Regions from separate parts of the Homo sapiens genome. Here region 2 is linked to region 1. Evidence: promoter capture Hi-C in human tissues and cell types (Jung and others, 2019). All regions are on one chromosome and are shown on one strand. The core of a region is centred on a gene start or on the middle of the fragment in contact, and the rest is flanking DNA. Distances in the headings are between cores, read along the strand shown. Region 1 holds the start of RPP25L (ribonuclease P/MRP subunit p25 like). Region 2 overlaps UBE2R2 (ubiquitin conjugating enzyme E2 R2).

Region 1 (2,700 bases), core at 91-2,590:
AGCACCCCAGACATTCAGGCCCGGAGAACAGGCTGGCTCAGCAGGTCTTCACGATCGGGTGTCTCGAGCCCTTCTTCGGGAACGAGGGCCACAGCTGGAGCTGGGCATGGAACCCAGGCCAGGGGGTGCTCCTGGGGGTTGGTAACCACACTCATTGGGGTCCAGGGGGTCCCGGCTGAGCAGCACCCACACTGCAGGCACATGGCGGCGCACTGTGAGGGGGTCTAGCCCTGTGTCAGGTGAGGCTGGGACCCAGCTGTCCTCAGTCTGAAGGAAACGTAGCTTGGTGAGCTGGTGCAGGCCTGGGACCCGCCGCTTGACAATCTCAGCGCAGCTGACAGCCTTTCCTGCAGCCCTGCCAGAACCTGAGAACACTACATGCCGAGCACTGCCGCCCTCCAACCGACCCAGAGCCAACCCCAGCAGGTTGCGAATTTTGCTGCCATCTCGGACCCGCATCTCAAGGGTATCAGGAGGTAGCTGGGGCATTGGGGAAGGCGCTGGGAGCTCTACAGAGCCAGCTTTCCGGTAGTGCTCCATCCTGCTTGCTGTCTTGTCTGTGACTCTCGCTGCCCACTGCAGGGAAGCATCAGGTAAGTGCTAAGCAATGTGCCCCAAGTCACTGTCCACCATCCCCTATCTCCATCCAGGATATGGCCCTGCTCCCCGTTCCAGACTTCCCAGAAACAGGATCATGTCCCCTTGTCCTTAGCATCTCGTGACAAGGTCCATGCCTGCCGCAGTCTGGGAAAGGGCTGTACCCCATACACCCCGTTCCTCTACAAGGGCCATAACACCCCCACCTCCAATCCTGGAGTCCAAGAGGCAGGATCACATTCCCCAAACACTGAGCTCTTTGGGAAAGTGCCAGGCCCCCTCATCCTAAACTCTCCAGGACTGGGGCTTAGCCCCCCTTATCCTGGGCTCCTTGGAACAGGGCCTGGAACCCTCACCCCAGACTAATACCAATAGAGAGCGCTCCTCACTTGGGGCTCTACAAGGACAGGGACAAGGCCCTTCGCCCCAGGCCCCCCGGGAAACAGCCAAGAACCCTTATCCAGTGCTGCCCCCAAACAGAACGGATCCCCTCTCCCAGAGATTACCAAGGTCAATCTATATCAACCCAGGTCACTCAGAAACTCGGGGGCAGAGGCTCGACTCGGAGGGCTGCTCAGGACATTCCAAGACAGCCTTGGCCGTTTCCATAGCCACGGTCTCTTCCAGGGTCTTGCCGGCCGCTGCAGCCAAGCCACAGGCGTCCCCCAACCCTACGAGCGCCCCTCTGCCCGCCCGGTTCCGGCTCTCACCGAAGCCGCCTCACGCACGATCCGGAGCCAAGATGGCGCGCGGGCCCGGAGCGCACTAAGGCCGCGGGGCCGCGCACGCCCCGAGGGGGCGGGGCGTGAGGGGCGGGGCGTGAGGGACGGGCCCCGAGGCATCTCCGCCGCGGAAACAACCCGCTGGCCAGAGCGCCCCGGACCAGTCCCAGCGGGGATGGGAACACGAGCGCAGCCTCCGCTGTTACGCCCCGGAGGGAGGCAGGACAGTTCCCTGCGGTAGAAAGGAGCGGCCGTCGGGGAAGTCCTGCGTCTGAAGGAGGGGGATCTGGCCCTTAGAAGATGGGAGGGCTGGCGTTAGCTGTTGAGCAAACGGGGAGCTGTGGGTTTCACCGTGGGTGCGAACAAAGGCTTCAGTTTGTAGTGGCTGCTGTTGCATGGGCGAGAGCCTTAGTTACCGACTTCTGAGCTTCGACCTCATCCTGTGGGCGCTGGCGGACCACGGGGGTTTTCCGGGTTTTCCAGGGGCCAGTCGAACCAGATCTTGTGCAGGGAGCCGAGGAGGGAGTGGTGGGGAAATCGGGCCACAGCCCCTGACGACACCTGCCGCGGAGTCTGGGGGCTGAGGGGGCGGGGGTGCCCACGGAGCCTAGTATGGTGCCTGGCGTATGACCGGCGCTCAATATTTGTTAAATGATTTGTTACATTAATGAACCAGAGAAATCGCGGTGGGAATGGAAAAAAGATTAAGTTGGGAGATACTAGTAGGTTCAGTGACGAGTTGGCCACTGTTTGGACGGAGAAGTAGGAAATTCCGATCTAGGGTGACTCCCAGGTTTCAGATCGGTTTGGACACGCTGAATTTGAGGTGCCGGAGAGGTCGCAAAGGCGGGGCGGCCAATGGGCCGTTGGAAAAAGGGTCTGGAGCCAGAGCACTCCCTGAGACCACAAGGGGGCAGCAAACATTTGGTGGACTACGGTGCCAATCTGTTTCTCAACATGCTTGCCCCAGCGCCCCTACTTCCCAACTTCCCCTCCCCAGGACCAAAACTTCCTGCATCCAAACCTCTTAGGCTGCCCTTCTCGGCTCGTGGCAGCAGGTAGGCTCCCAAGAGAGAAATTTAAAGGCCTTTGCACATGCTGCTCCCTTGGCTCTGAAAGTCCCTGGATATCACTTACCAGGTCCCTTCAGTCCCTTTTTTCTTCTGTGTCCACCTGATAGGACTGCCCTTTTCCTTTACTGTCTATCCTGCTAGCCCGTGCAGGGCAGGGATTAGCCCTATCTACTCCCATCATCTGACATTTGGAGGTCTCTTATTGGTAAATGTGGGATAAATGGATACATAAAGGAATATCCTATTCACATAATCAAATGAGAGCCTTCATTTTGAGAGCTCTACACCTGCCAGAAAGCCAGACCAGG
Region 2 (2,700 bases), core at 115-2,614, 710 kb before region 1:
AACCATAAGGCAGTGTGTTAGAATATAATATTTTGTATTAATTTTATTTTAAAAATATTTTATATTGATAATGGTTACATATATATTCATATAGTTTCTATGTGTCTAAATTTGGGTTGTATATGTAAGATTTTTGCACTTTATATAGTTATACCTCCAGTTTTTTAAAAATATAAATCTTAAGTCGTGTGTGGTAGCACACCCTAGAGTCCCAGCTATGGGACTACTGAGGTGTGAGGATCACTTGAGGCCAGGAGTTAGTGGCTGCAGTGCACCATGGTTGTCTTATGCATAATCACTGCACTACAGCCTAGGTAACATAGTGAGACTCCCATCTCTAAAGACAGAAAGAAGTTAAATAAATAAATAAATCTTACCTTCCATGTTAGGCTAAGTCCAAGAGATAAGTCACTGTATTTTACCTAACTTTATCTTTTCTATTGAATTGTGTTCTGTATTGCACATGGTGGGCAATCCATATGTGTATGAATTAACCTAAATGTACTTGTGGATTAAGTTGTGTTAAGTTTATGAAGCAAAATATAATAGCCATAGTGGGAAGTCATTCTAACCATACCTTGAGGATGTTAACATTTGCTGCGAGGCATATTTTTGGTTTATATAAGTCATGGTTATTGACATAGCATCTATCTGAGTAGATATTAAGCAAGGTTAGATATTTTTTCTTCCTTTTTATGTACTCTAGGTACACAGATATATCTGAAAACAAAGGGATATATATTTGGCTGCTTCTAAGACAATTGAGTCTTGATTTATTATGTTTGTCTTTTTTTTTTTAAGATGGAGTCTCATTGTGTTGCCCAGGCCGGAGCACTATCTTGGCTCACTGCAACCTCCGCCTCCCGGGTTCAAGCGATTCTCCTGCCTCAGCCTCCTGAGTAGCTGGGATTACAGGCGCGTGCCACCACGCCCGGCTAATTTTTGTCTTTTGTTTTTGTTTTTTTGAGACGGAGTCTCCCTCTGTTGCCCAGGATGGAGTGCATTGGCGCGATCTTGGCTCCCTGCAACCCCCACCTCCCAGGTTCAAGCGATTCTCCTGCCCCAGCCTCCTGAGTAGCTGGGATTACAGGGGAGTGCTACCACGCCCGGCTAATTTTTGTATTTTTAGTAGAGACGGGGTTTCACCATGTTGTTCAGGCTGGTCTCGAACTCCTGACCTTGTGATCTGCCCACCTTGGTCTCCCAAAGTGCTGGGATTACAGGCGTGAGCCACCGCGCCCAGCCAATTTTTGTATTTTTGGTAGAGATGGGGTTTCGCCATGCTGGTCTCAAACTCCTGACCTCAGGTGGTCCACCCGCCTTGGCCTCCCAAGTGCTAGGATTACAGGCGTGAGACACCGCGCCCAGCCCCAGTCAATTTTTTATCAGGATTGTACTATAGGAATAGTAAGTCTTCTCACTAGAAAATATACCTTGGAGATTGGTCGAAATAAATATTATATTTTAATGTTCCTAAGTAAACATAGGGATCGTTTGTTTCATCAGGATTGTTCTATAGGAATAGTAAGTCTTCTCACTAGAAAATATACCTTGGAGATTGGTCAAAATAAATACTTTTAAAATGCTTAATTATTATTTATCTTTGATGTTGAACATAAAAAGCAGAATTGTTTTCTCCTTTGATGAAGAAACAGTTTCTAGGAATAAAGGAAACTTTAGAACCGATGTCCCTTTTTGTACATCACTTTTTGAGTATTTACTGAATGTAATGTTTGTGTCTTGTAGAATGGAGATGTATGCATTTCGATTCTTCATCCGCCTGTAGATGACCCACAGAGTGGAGAACTGCCTTCTGAAAGGTGGAATCCTACTCAGAATGTGAGGTAAGGAGGAATCTGGTTTTGGAGTTATTCTTAATCTCCTTATTGTCTTTGCTCCTAGTAAAATAAAATTATGTATTGTCTTTTAACATGTAAAAAATCATCTTTCTTATATTCAGTTTCTTTGTCTTTAGCTAGAGCTTTAAGAAATATGTATGCGTCATTTTGAAGAGCTGTATTTACTAAACAATAATGTATATGATTCTCATTTCCCTATGTTCACTTAGGAATAGATTTTCAAGCCTGAATCCCTACTCTTAACTTATCCTAGTTCTACTCTGGTTCTTTATTACCACCTAACATTAGTGTCATTCATTGGTTGCAGTTAATAAACAATGTTAATTCATTATAAGTAACTGAAGTCCATACGCTTTCACATTTCCTTTGTTTTTACCTGTCGTTGTTTTGCTCCAAAATATTTCATACATATAAATATATATCTATATATGTACGTGTATACATATATGTATTTAAATTTTTTGTAGAGATGGGGTCTCACTAAGTTGCCCAGCTGGTCTCAAACTCCTGGCCTCAAGCAGTCCTCCCCACTTGGCCTCCCAAAGCGCTGGGATTATAGGCATGAGCCACTGTGCCCTGCTCATCACATTATATTTAATAGTCATGTCTTCATGGGCAACTCCTCTCTCTCTCTGTCTCTGTCTCTCTCTCTCTCTCTGTTTCTGTCTGTGTCTCTGTCTCTTGTCTTTGAGACAGTGTCTTCCCGTCACCCAGACTGGTGTGCAGCGGTGTGATCACAGGTCACTGCAGCCTCGACCTCCTGGGCTCAAGTGAGCCTTTCACCTCAGCCTCCCAAGTAGCTGTGACTATAGGTGTATGCCACCATACCTAGCTATTAAGC

What was found. The method cuts DNA at HindIII sites, captures the fragments that hold promoters and counts their contacts. A contact is called where the count stands out against the background at its distance.
Region 2: a fragment that was not itself captured here is called in contact with the fragment with the promoter of RPP25L in region 1 in 1 of the 25 tissues and cell types used here (pancreas).

Annotation. Positions count from the first base shown.
Region 1 is chr9:34,610,757-34,613,456 of GRCh38, forward strand. It overlaps RPP25L (ribonuclease P/MRP subunit p25 like), which reads right to left and starts at 1,341. Exons shown (of 2, transcript NM_148178.3): 1 at 1,308-1,341; 2 at 1-576. The coding sequence starts at 540. The coding sequence ends at 49. RefSeq lists enhancers at 259-812, 1,916-1,965, 2,093-2,142 and a silencer at 1,276-1,515. The HindIII fragment of the contact is 7,953 bases long and covers 1-2,700 here.
Region 2 is chr9:33,898,428-33,901,127 of GRCh38, forward strand. It overlaps UBE2R2 (ubiquitin conjugating enzyme E2 R2), which reads left to right. Exons shown (of 5, transcript NM_017811.4): 3 at 1,747-1,844. Among named protein-coding and RNA genes, the nearest start is that of SNORD121B, 35 kb to the right of the region's middle. The HindIII fragment of the contact is 5,505 bases long and covers 1-2,700 here.